Regions from separate parts of the Homo sapiens genome. Here regions 2 and 3 are each linked to region 1. The links are contacts of gene promoters, found by promoter capture Hi-C in blood cells and fetal thymus (Javierre and others, 2016). All regions are on one chromosome and are shown on one strand. Each heading gives the region's core, a stretch centred on a gene start or on the middle of the fragment in contact. The rest is flanking DNA. Distances are from core to core; before and after follow the strand shown.

Evidence for each region. The method cuts DNA at HindIII sites, captures the fragments that hold promoters and counts their contacts. A CHiCAGO score of 5 or more calls a contact.
Region 2: a fragment that was not itself captured here is called in contact with the fragment with the promoter of SCD5 in region 1 in 1 of 17 cell types (M2 macrophages); the score reaches 5.0 in M2 macrophages.
Region 3: a fragment that was not itself captured here is called in contact with the fragment with the promoter of SCD5 in region 1 in 4 of 17 cell types (M1 macrophages, M2 macrophages, megakaryocytes and 1 more); the score reaches 7.1 in M1 macrophages.

What each region holds. Positions count from the first base shown.
Region 1 is chr4:82,796,834-82,801,028 of GRCh38, reverse strand. SCD5 (stearoyl-CoA desaturase 5) reads left to right here and starts at 2,233. Exons shown (of 5, transcript NM_001037582.3): 1 at 2,233-2,723. The coding sequence starts at 2,492. RefSeq lists enhancers at 1,075-1,791, 1,792-2,509, 3,486-4,007 and silencers at 1,878-2,297, 2,628-2,677. The HindIII fragment of the contact is 16,836 bases long and covers 1-4,195 here.
Region 2 is chr4:82,433,655-82,437,849 of GRCh38, reverse strand. All of the region lies in intron 1 of ENOPH1 (enolase-phosphatase 1), which reads right to left. Among named protein-coding and RNA genes, the nearest start is that of ENOPH1, 5.2 kb to the right of the region's middle. The HindIII fragment of the contact is 7,870 bases long and covers 1-4,195 here.
Region 3 is chr4:82,487,318-82,491,512 of GRCh38, reverse strand. It overlaps TMEM150C (transmembrane protein 150C), which reads left to right. Exons shown (of 8, transcript NM_001080506.3): 7 at 1,275-1,452. It also overlaps the pseudogene RPL7AP26. Among named protein-coding and RNA genes, the nearest start is that of ENOPH1, 59 kb to the right of the region's middle. The HindIII fragment of the contact is 430 bases long and covers 1,476-1,905 here.

The DNA.
Region 1 (4,195 bases), core at 984-3,483:
CAGTGAAACCCCCGTCTCTACTAAAAATACAAAAAAAAAAAAAAAAAAAAAAATAGCCGGGCGTGGTGGCGGGCACCTGTAGTCCCAGCTACTCGGGAGGCTGAGGCAGGAGAATGGCGTGAACCCGGGAGGCAGATCTTGCAGTGAGCCGAGATCAGGCCTCTGCACACCAGCCTGGGCAACAGAGCGAGACTCCGTCTCAAAAACAAAAACAAACAAACAAACAAAAGATGGATTCAAGATAGAACAGCTGACCTAATAAGGTTCTCAGGGGGGACAATAAGGAACTATTTTTGCTTCCCTTAGACTCCTTGTATGTAAGTTTGATACCTAATTAAATTTTTTTTTCCGATAATGGACTGTAACTTTCTGCCCTTCCAAGGTCATAGTCAAGAGGTTACATTTGTTTGCTCCATCTTTGCTTCTAGATGGGAGCTCCTTTAGGGGCGGGACCAGACTTTATTCATCCTTGGATCCCCTGTGCCCACTGGTCCTGGCACATAGCAGATGCCCAATAAATGCCAAATAAATGACTGAATGTTTAGAATGAGGGTCTTTACAGCATTGAGCCTTTCCAATAACCCGGAGAGAGGCTTTTGGCCGAGCAACTAGTCTACCCCAGAGAGAAAGGACAGTCTGAACTAGAGAGCCACAGGGAGTAGGAAGGTCTGCTGGGTATGGGGAGCAGAGGGAGCATGAGAAGAAAACGTGGTTCATTACATAGCCCAGGTTGAACAGACAGATGAAAATCGCACCCTCCAGCTTCATGTTCCACTGTCTGACTGGTCATTATATAGGGCCGACATTTATCTGGTCTCCAGGCAAATTCTATAATTTCAGCTCCGTCTGAAGCAACACAGTAACACTGACTCAGTGGCCTAGATTCCACAAGTGCCACATACCTTGCTTTAGCTTAAATCAGGCATTGTTTTGTCTGGCTGCTAGGACTGGCTCAGGTCTGCTAACAATAAGATGCTTATGCATGGCCCTTTCATGCAGTCAGTCTTTTAAATTTTTTTGCCTCTCTTGAAATCCTGGAAATGATTCCTAACAACGGTTAATCTAAAAATCAGCTGGTTTTGGTCAATATAATGGCGCCCCTTCGAACTCACATTCATGGAATATGGAAGCTGGAAGGAAGAGTAGAAACTAGTTCTGCTTCTCAGGTAAGGAAATCCGTGCCCAGAGAGTTGGGCTGGGTTCCAGCCAGTTAAAACTAGAACTCAGAGATGCTGTCCCGAGCCCTTTTACTTCTGCTGCCTGCCCGCAATTGCGGTCACACCTGCTTCAGACACTTCCAGCTCAATCCTCCCTCCATTTTCTGTGCAACTAGGGTCCTCTCTGGAGAGCTCTTAAGCCATCAGCTCTAGGAGAGAAGTGGGCAGACACAAATCTTTCACAGGTTAATTTTCCTTGGAACATTCTGGGTGATTTTTTTGTAAAGCCCGATTCTCAATGGTGTTGATTTCAGGGTAGTGTTCCTCACTGAGAGCTAAGGAGGCGTTGCAGAAGTGCGCTGATTAGCTAGAATTGACCATAAACAGAGTGGCGCGGCGGATGGGCAAAGGGTGGGCAGCGAACTGGCCCAAATCATCTGTGCATCACCTCACAAGCACCAACTGAGCACTTACTGTGTGCCTGGGTAATCCACAGCTGCCTAATTAAGAACGAGCAGCTGCCTTCCAACCCTCCCCTGGCCCGAGGAGCCCTACTAACTGGCAGATTGAGGGACTTCTGATTCTCATCGTGGGTCTGGCCTTAACTAGGGTCGCGACTCCAAGCAAGTATTTAAAATTCTCCAACCCAGGTGGCCTGAGGCTTGAGAAGAAATAAAAGGCTTCTCAAAGGGATGACAGTTTCGGGAAGTTTTTTTTTGGGGGGGGGACTGGAAAAATACCATAAAAGGCATTTTGGGGGTCACACACACACAAGAGCAGAAGCGCTGTGAGCCGCCCTGCAGGCTCCCTGCCCCGGGAGCCACCTTCCACCCGCCCCCGGGCGGAGGCGGCCAACTCCCGCCCAGCGGGCTCCCCAGTTCGGCCCCGAAAAGCCGAAAGGGGGGCGCCTTTGTCTATAAGCGCCGCACGGGCGCTCCTGATTGGCTGTAGCTAAGCAGGGCTTTCTTCCGCGCTCCTTCGGAGCGCTCCCTCCAGCGTCGCCGGCCCCGTTCCATTTTCACAGCTCCTCCTCCCCGGCCGCGCGCCCCTCCCGCCCCGCGCGCGCCTCCTCTTTCTCGCGGCCGAGTTCAGCCCGGGCAGCCATATGGGGGATACGCCAGCAACAGACGCCGGCCGCCAAGATCTGCATCCCTAGGCCACGCTAAGACCCTGGGGAAGAGCGCAGGAGCCCGGGAGAAGGGCTGGAAGGAGGGGACTGGACGTGCGGAGAATTCCCCCCTAAAAGGCAGAAGCCCCCGCCCCCACCCTCGAGCTCCGCTCGGGCAGAGCGCCTGCCTGCCTGCCGCTGCTGCGGGCGCCCACCTCGCCCAGCCATGCCAGGCCCGGCCACCGACGCGGGGAAGATCCCTTTCTGCGACGCCAAGGAAGAAATCCGTGCCGGGCTCGAAAGCTCTGAGGGCGGCGGCGGCCCGGAGAGGCCAGGCGCGCGCGGGCAGCGGCAGAACATCGTCTGGAGGAATGTCGTCCTGATGAGCTTGCTCCACTTGGGGGCCGTGTACTCCCTGGTGCTCATCCCCAAAGCCAAGCCACTCACTCTGCTCTGGGGTAAGTCCCGCCGGCGCCCCCTGCGCCCCGGCCTCCGTGGCCAGGCCGCGCTGGGGCGCGCGAGGTCGCCGCTCGCCCCTCGGCTGCGGGCGGTGCGCAGCGACCCCCGGTCTCCCCTCGCCTCCCGCTGCGCGCCGCGGCCCCCTTGGCATCCAGTTTTCCGTCCCTTGGGACGGGCAGGTGTTTCTGTCCCAGTATTTCAACTTCCGCCCCCCCCCCGCCCCCACCCCGCCGCGGTCTGCCTGAGGAAGCGCATTTGCCGGCTTCCCGATGGAGAGCCGGGGGGGACCCGGAGTCCTGCGGTGCCACCGCTGTGCGCAGAGGCGCGCGAAGGGAGAGGCTCGGCACAGGCTGAATCGGCTCCCAGCGAGGGAGGACGGGCGGGCGATTGTGTCACCTCTGCGGTCCCTGGGGCTCTCCTATCCCCCCCATCACCTCCGCGGGTCACGGACCTTGGGGACAGAGATGAGGACAAGTAAGGGAGTTGGACCGGGGAGGAGAGACCCGGCACAGGATAGAGTCTTGGTTTACGCGCACCAGATGGAAGATACCGGTTCCCCTCTTGCCTCTCCAAGGCCCCTGTCCCTGCCCCCTCCGCAATCTTCTATGCCCATTTGCAGTTCTCGGTGAAGTTTCTCGGTGAGCAAACCGATCCCATGGCGAGAGCGGTCTGACCCTAGCACGAAGCTCCGACTGTGGCTGTGCAGAGCCTTCTCCAAACCCTGTTCCCATGTGGCCAGTGGGAACCTGTGGCTCTCCTGGTACCCTCCTTCCGTGCACCCCCACTCCTGCCAGTAGGGAAGGGAGCCCGGGCGCCGACCACCATTCCCCTTCCCCTGGGCCCCAGGGACTGCGTGCCCACCCTACACGACCCCAGTCGTTGATCTTTGAACCACTTCGCAGCCGCCCTGGCCGCAATAACTGGTTTTGGCCTCCTTTACTGAAGCGGCAGTAGCCAGGACAAAAGGCACAGGCATTGATATGCTGAGTGAGAATTTGACGAGGTAATCCAAGATGCCCTTCCAGCTCCCGTTTCCCTGATCTCTAGGGGCGGGCAGGAGAAACACAACCTACTTTTATTTCCAGAGGGGAAGAGGAAGGAAGAAAATAAGACCTCTTTCTACAGGGCTTTTTTGGCATGGTGCCAGCTGCAAATGCCTAGGTAGATAATGGGGCCACTATGGTTCCAAGCCTTCCCTTGAAATCCTGCAGTCCCTGCTCTTGGAAGTAAACCCATCCAGAAGTGGGTACCTCTTAGGGGGTGTGGCTCAGGGAGGGCATAGCAGAGTTGACGGATGGTGAGAGAGGTAGGATCTTTGGGGATCCCTAAAGCCTTTAAAGTCTCCCCAAAGCTCTGGGAAATCTCCTGCTTCATCTTTCCTTCTCTCAGTGCACCTCCTCATTTCTGTGTCCTTTTCACCATCACCTTTATGTGTTGGTTTAATTCTCCAACTGACTGTAGACTGTATGAT
Region 2 (4,195 bases), core at 1,118-3,617, 360 kb after region 1:
CCATTCCGGAATGCATATCACCATCACCCAGCATGTTACAGCATGCCTGATGTGTAAGCACTGTGTGAGGCTCTGGTCTCTGCCCTTGAGGAGCCTTCCACACAGCTTGAAAAAGAGGACACACATCCAACATCACAAGTCAGCTATTGGCTCCAGTAGCAAATACTACACATGGTACTGACAATGAGTTCAGAGGACGAAGAGAAAGGACTTTGAAATTCCTGCTTAAATAGGTCCTTTACAAGAAGAGGTAGCTCTTACTTCCATATTCCCACAGCTTAGCACAATAAGTAATTTTTTTTTAAGTTAATGAGTGCATGGGACCCACACTTGGAGACGAAAAGGTATGACATTCCAAGCTGGAAGAATGGTGGCAGCAAGAAAGGGCATGATTGGAATGTGCATGTTCAGCTATGTAAAGTGTAAAGAGAGGGATAGAAAGTTGGAAAACCCAATTTGTTGAACTCTCATCTCACAGCCAGTGAGAGACTACAGAGGACTTTGATTATGCAAAGGCGACCTATTTATGTAACTGTCTTCCTTTCTAGGTTCCCTGAGGAACCTGAGGGTGACAGCTGGGTCTTAAGGACTCTGGATCCCTACCATATCCTGGAACATGACAGGTATTCAATTAAATGTGAGGGAAAGGAAAGAAGGATTGATTAGGCTGGAAAGATTATGCTAATGCCACAATACTGAAGGTTCTAGAAAAATAAGGAACCAGAAATCAAAGTGAGAGGTGCTTTCTTTTTTTATAATTTTTTTTTAAGACAGGGTCTTGCTATGTTGCCCAGGCTGGTCTGAAACTCCTAGCCTCAAGTGATCCTCCAACCTTTGCCTCCCAAAGTGTTCGGATTACAGGGGTGAGCCACCATGCCCATACTGAATTATTTACTTAATGCAGATTCTTTGGGTTCCAACAACGATAGGATGATGATGATGATGATGACGACGATGACATATTCTGTGTGAGAGCAGGATGAACATGACAGTCCCAGCTTTAGGGAACTAACAGGTGGCTGGGTGAGCAGATTGTCTAAGGCTCATGTGGTAGGCAGCCCAGGTCTCCTGAATCCTAGGTGAGGTCCCTCCCAGCTAGGTGGGACAGCTTCCTCCCAGAGGCCAGAGGTGCTTTCTATCCACCATTTTTTTTTTTTTTTTTTGAGACAGGGTCTTGCTTTGTCATCCAGGCTGGACTGCAGTGGCACGATCATGGCTTACTGCAGCCTTGACCTCCTGGGCTCAAATGATCCTTCTACCTCAGCCTCCTGAGTAGCTGGGATCACAGGCACATGCCACTACACCTGGCTAACTTTTTTTATTTTTAGTAGAGACGAGGTCATGCTACATTGCGCAGGCTGGTCTTGAACTCCTAGGTTCAAGCAATCCTCTCACCTTGGCCTTCCAAAGTGCTAGGATTACAAGTGTGAGCCACCAAGGCTAAGGCTAGCCTCCATCCACCTCTTGATATACGCAAGACAGTGATTCTCCAAAGACTCCTCACCTTGTTTCAAGCTGAGTCAACAAAAATCCTCTCACGTACTACCATGAATGTAGCTGGGAAACACTGCCCTAAGCAGTAGAAAAGTTTGGGGAGAGGGGGGCAGTTGTTTATCAACCCATCAACAACTACTTATCTGCCATTCCAGTGCTTCCACAAATTCTTAGAGATCAACAATATCCTGCGTCTTATTTTTAACATATTTCTGGGTAGGGCAATAAGGAGCAGAAGTCACTGGGAGTAACCATGGTAGACGTAACTGGGAGCATGGTGGGTTTCAGGAAATGTAAGATCCCTCTTTTCCTTATCAATCCTTCCTTCATAAGCACTTTCTATTTCCTCCAGTCTGACACTTCCTGCATTATAATCAGTGTTTCTATAGGACTTCGTAATTTTCAAAGGCTTTTGAATTCCATCTTATTTAACCTTCATCACCACCTTTATAAACAAAGCATATCCTAGTAGCCCATCCCTGCGGATGAAAAAGCCTAAATCCGTAGACTGAATGAAGATAGGGAAAGAGACCCTATTACAGTTACTGGTGTCAATAATAAATAGCACAGGTAGAAGAATGCTTCCAGTGTGCCATTCCTTGTAGGCTGTCTTCTAGCTGTTTCATTGTGCAGGCAGAGTGCGCATCCTACACTTCTCAATGCTGGCAATAATAGAAGTAATACTACTTATCAAATGGATGTTTAACCAAAGTTGGGAGATAACTATCAGACTTTAAAGCTCTCTTCCTAAAAAGACCATAATTTAATATAGCAGTTTTCATAAGAAAGATGTTAACTGCAACACTCCCCAATTATTATCTTCTAAAATACATTATAAGAGGACATAAAGAGGACTGTTAAATAATCAAGAATGAATTCACTATTTCTAAAAATGCTTTACCAGCCTGGACAACCCAGTGAGACCCCATCTCTGCAAAAAATTTTAAAAATTAGCTGGACATGGTGGCACATGCCTATAATCCCAGCACTCTGGGAAGCCGTGATGGGAGGACTGTTTGAGTCCAGGAGTTTGAGAACAGCCTGGGCAACACTGTGAAACCCCATCTTTATAAAAAATAAAAATAAGCTAGCTAGGCATGGTGGTGCACACTCGTGGTCCCAGCTACTCAGGAGACTGAGGTAGGAGGATTGCTTAAGCCTGAGAGGTCGAGGTTGCGGTGAGCTGTGATCGTGCCACTGTACTCCAGCCTGGGTGACACAGCCTGACCCTGCTTCAGAAAAACAAAGACAAAAAAGAACAAACACCAGAGGTATGTGTCCTGCGGTAAAGTGCAGGGATGGTGGCGGTGGATTTAGATGCGGTGGGAACATCTAAGGAAAACTGGGCTCTGCTGCAGCTCTACTCCCAACAAATTTTGATGATCCTCAGGCAAGACACAAAGACATGCTATAAACTGAAATTTGTTACCATATACTTTTTTTTTTTTTTAAAGACAGTCTCGCTCTGTCACTCAGGTTGGAGTGCACTGGCACGATCTCGGCTCACTGCAACCTCCGCCTCCCAGGTACAAGCGATTCTCCCACCTCAGCCTCCCCAGTAGCTGGGATTACAGGTGTGCGCCACCATGCCCAGCTAATTTTTGAATTATTTATTCCTTTTTTTCTTTTCTTTTCTTTTTTTGAGACAGCGTCTTCCTCTGTTGCCCAGGCTGGAAGGCAGTGGTACAATCTCGGCTCACTGCAACCTCCACCTCCTGGGTTCAAGTGATTCTTCTGCCTCAGCTTCCTGAGTAGCTGGGATTACAGGTGCCCACCACCATGCCCGGCTAATTTTTGTATTTTTAGTAGAGACGGGGTTTCACCATGTTGACCAGGCTGGTCTCAAACTCCTGACCTCAGGTGATCCACCTGTCTCGGCCTCCCAAAGTGCTGGGATTATGAGCCACCATGCCTGGCCTACTTTTTGTATTTTTAGTAGAGACTGGCTTTCACCATGTTGGCCAGGCTGGCCTCGAACTCCTGACCTCAAGAGATCCACCTGCTTCGGCGTCCCAAAGTGCTGGGATTACATGCCTGAGCCACCGTACCTGGCTTGTTACCATATACTTTTATAGCACAGTACTTCACATTGATTAAAGAACTCTCATACTAACTGTGTCATTTAACATACACAACCACCAAGCAAAGGAGACAGGACAAACAGTAGCATCCCATTTCCAAGGCTGAGTGCAGTAATGGAAAAAATAAGAGTTTTTATGAATAAGACAATCTGAGTTCAAATCCCAGGCATCTTGTTCAACTTTTCAGAGGCTTTGTTTCATCCTAAGTAAAGTGTAGACAGTACATACACCTCATGGTCTTTTAGAATGAGTCAAGGATTGAGTACTGCACGTATACAGTACTCAATGTTTCCTTCCATCATTCCACAGAAGGAAGGGCTACAAGTTCACACACCTACTCTGACTTTAAAGCTCCAAGCAGATTATCTTTCAACTCCCATGCTCAACCTTTCCGTGCTCAGATTCAAGAATGTAACTCAGCATCTCTTTAAAAGGTGTTTAAAAGATTAGTCACTGAGATACTCTACTAAAAGTTTTTTGTTCAAGTAGATTTGTGAAATGTCACTCTCTTGAAATCTCACAAAGTGTGTATGTGTGTATATATATGTATGATACCGAAGGTTCTGAGAAGTCTTGCAATAAAGAAATCTATTTGAACTCATTCTAACTAGCATTTCCCA
Region 3 (4,195 bases), core at 441-2,940, 310 kb after region 1:
GGACAGGACATCCAGCCCAAAAGTGACCTCACTCGCTTTGTGAAATTGCCCCGCTATATCAGGTTGCAGTGGCAGACAGCCATCCTCTATAAGCGGCTGCAATTAACCTCTGTAAGTGCTTTCTGCAATTAACCAGTTCACCCAGGCCCTGGATGCCAAGCAGCTACTCAGCTGCTTAAGCTAGCCCACAGGTACAGACCAGAGACAAAGCAAGAGAAGAAGCAGAAGCTGTTGGCCCAGGCTGAGAAGAAAGCTGCCTGCAAAGAGGACGTCCCCACTAAGAGACCACCTGCCCTTCGAGTAGGAGTTAACACTGTCACCACCTTGGTGGAAAACAAAAAGGCTCAGCTGGTGGTGATTGCACACGATGTGGATCCCATCGAGCTAGCTGTCTTCCTGCCTGCCCTGTGTCGTAAAATGGGGGTCTCTTGCTGCATTATCAAGAGGAAGGCAAGACTGGGACGTCTAGTCCACAGGAAGACCTGCACCACTGTTGTCTTCACACAGGTTAACTTGGAAGACAAAGGAGCTTTGGCTAAGCGGGTGGAAGCTATCAGGACCAATTACAAAAACAGATCCGATGAGATCCGCCATCACTGGGGAGGCAATGTCCTGGGTCCCAAGTCTGTGGCTCACATTGCTAAGCTCAAAAAGGCAAAGGCTAAAGAACTTGCCACCAAGCTGGGTTAAATATACACTGTTGAGTTTTCTGTACTTAAAAAACAATTAAAGTAATACAAATTTTCCTTCAAAACAAACAAATTAGCCAGGCATGGTGGCATGTACCTGTGGTCCCAGCTACTCCAGAGGCTGAGGTGGGAGGATCGCTTTGAGCCAGGGAGCCGTGATCACGCCACTGTATTTTAGCCTGGGAGACAGAGTAAAGACCCTGTCTCAAAACAAACAAACAAACCAAAACAAAAACAAACAAACAAAAAAAACCATGTCCAAATTCCTGGTCTAATTTTCTTATCCTGGAAAAGTTTGGGGTGTATGCTTGTAGAAACATTTCTTTTTCTGTAACTCTCCTTCTGTTTTCTTTTACTTTTTCTACACAAATGTTTTTAAGGGTTGGGGGTATTATTTATTTCCTTCATCCCCTCAGAGTTCAAACCATTTGAGAATAGAACGAAGAGCTAATCTTTCTGCAATCTATCATCCCATTATTGGGATATTTCTTTTCCTATCTTTTCCCCTCATATATTCATTCCTTCAACTTGCCTGTCTTCTTTGCTGAATGGGCCTTCATGTGTCATTATCCATTCATCCCTAAGCTCACAAATGATGAAGAAATCCATAACGTCGGAACTTCCTTGACCTTTGGATTTGGCACATTGACCTGCTGGATCCAGGCTGCGCTGACACTCAAGGTCAACATCAAGAATGAAGGACGGAGAGTTGGAATTCCACGGGTTATTCTGTCGGCATCTATCACTCTCTGTGTGGTCCTCTGTATCCTTTGAACGTGAAAAGCTTCTTTTGCCAGTAAGATGAAAACAAGTAAGTTGTCTCTGTAGAAGAACCCAGTGGGTTAGGATATTCTGCCAGATCTTCTCAGAATCTTAAGGCAAAGGTAAACAGGTATAAAAACAAAAACCCTCAGACCAATTTTTCATGCCAAAGGGGAGATGGAGAAATAAAAATAAAACAAGGTCTGCCCTCTCCAGATTGTTTCAATCTGCAGGAATGGTGTCATACATTCTCATTTCACTAATGATGTAAAAGTTCTTATTTGTGAAAATCAGAGAATGCACAGCCAAAAGAGAATTGCCATTTTTTTCCTCCAGCTTAAAAAAATGCATTTGTGACTTTATTAATGGCCCTGTTATTTCATTTCATTTATTAGCTCTGAAATGAATTTCAGAGGACCAATACATTTATATATTTCAGGAAAATAATGAAGCTTTTCTGGAAGACAAATTCAAGCACTAGATTAAGGCTGCATGTGTAGTTTTCCTCCAATATTTGAGGTTTTGGGGTGCTATTCATTTCCCTTCCTCCGCTCAGAGTTTGAACCAATTGAGAATAGATGCTAGGAGCCAGGTGGGGATGAAGAAATCAGCCTTTATCCTAGTAAACCTGGAAAGGAAAATGCTGCAGGTCTCCTCTCTCACACCTTGGAATTCAACTTAACCACCCAGTAACAAGCAGAGAAACCAGGGAAAGGCAGAGGAGAGCACCTCACTCCGCTTAGCCCCACACAGATCCCAGAGAGAGTCTAGCTTAGGATGGAGTGCAGTGGCCTCACCTACTGGTAGTGTGGCCCAATAGAAGCCTGCCAGTTCCCATCCCACCAATCAGATCAGTCACTCATTCCATGGAGTGGAGTAATCAGAAGTGTTCAACACTTGGGGAGGCAGAGGCAGGAAGATCACTTGAAGTCAGGAGCTCAAGATCCACCTGGACAACAAAGGGAGACCCTGTCTCTACAAAAAAAAAAAAAAAAAAAATCTAAAAATCCGCTGGGTGTTGTGGCGAGCACCTGTAATCCCAGCTACTGGGGAGGCTGAGGTGGGCTGGCTTGAGCCCAGGAGTTTAAGGCTGCAGCGAGCTAAGATCGACTCTGTCTCTAACAATAAATAAATAAATAATAAAGGCCTGGTGCCGTGGCTCATGCTGTAATCCTAGCACTTTGGGAGGCTGAGGCAGGAGGATTGCTTAAGCCCAGGAGTTCAAGACCAGCCTGGGCAAGATAGCAAAACCTGGTCTCTATAAAAATTTGTTTTAGAAAAATTAGCAGGGTGTGGTGGTGTGCACCTGTAGTCCAAGCTACTTGGGAGGCTTGCGGGGAGGATCACTTGATCCCAGGAATTTGAGGCTGCAGTGAGTTGTGATCATGCCACTGCAATCCAGCCTGGGTGACAGAGTGAGACCCTGACTCAAAAAATAAAATAAAATAAAAGGCAAAAATAAAAGAAGTGTTCACTCCAGTAAGGCCCTCCTCAGAAAACCAGAGAAAGGAATCAAGGTTCCTAAAGGGTAGATTGTACAGAAAATGCAATTACACATCTTCAGTCATAATAATCACCAATTTTTAGACAGCGTGCTAGGCATTATTCTAAGTACTTTAAATGTATCAACTCTTTTTATCCTCACTTCACATGTAAGAACAGTGAATCATGGAGAAGTTTAATTTGCGCAAGATCACACAGATAATGCGTGGTGGATCGAGATTTAAACTCAGGCTCAGCTCTTCACTCTTAACCACTTCAGACCCCACCTTAGAGAAAGTAGCTTTAGAATGAAACAATGGCATTCGCAGCAACCTGGTTGGAATTGGAGACCATTATTCTAAGTGAAGTAACTCAGGAATGAAAAACCAAACATCCTGTGTTCTCACTCATAAGTGGGAGCTAAGCTGTGAGGACACAAAGGCATAAGAATGACACAGTGGACTTTGGGGACTCAGGGGAAAGGATGGGAGGGGGATGAGGGATAAAAGACTACAAATTGGGTGCACTATACACTGCTTGGGTGGTGGGTGCACCAAAATCCCAGAAATCATCACTAAAGAACTTATTCATGCAACCAAACACCACCTGTTCCCCAAAATCCTATTGAAATATAAATAAATAAATAAATATAAATAAAAAGTTCAAAATAGCTAGAAAGAAATAAAGTATATCAATTCAAAGAAAGAGAGAGAAAGTAGCTTTAAAATATGAATAGAAGCAGACCCTAAGATGAGGGGGGGAAAGAATAAAATATGAAAACACACACAGTTCAGAGCCCATTCTCTAGTTAGTGGAGTATTTGGACTATTTATTTTTTCTTCATTCACAAATTCCTGTTCCACCATTTTGCTGATTTTCCAAAGTTCTACAGTCACATTAGATAGAGAACATTTAAGGACTTAAGTTCAAGCCAAAAAACTTGGTTCTTGCTAGCAACCTAATAAATACTTTATGAACAAAAAGATCAAAACTCTGCCAATATAAGATAAAAGGAGATATGCTTTCTCCATTAATTTAAGTAATAAGTTAATATTGCTTTGGCAATATTTTGCATCCTTGTTCAAAAGAGTGTGCAGACTTTAAATCACTCCGAGATGTTTTTTGTGATTTAAGACAGGGTCTCATTCTGTTGCCTAGGCTGGAGTGCAGGGGCATGATATTGGCTCACTGCAACCTCCACCTCCTGGGTTCAAGCCATCCTCCCATCTCAGCCTAGAGAGTAGCTGGGATTACAGGCACAC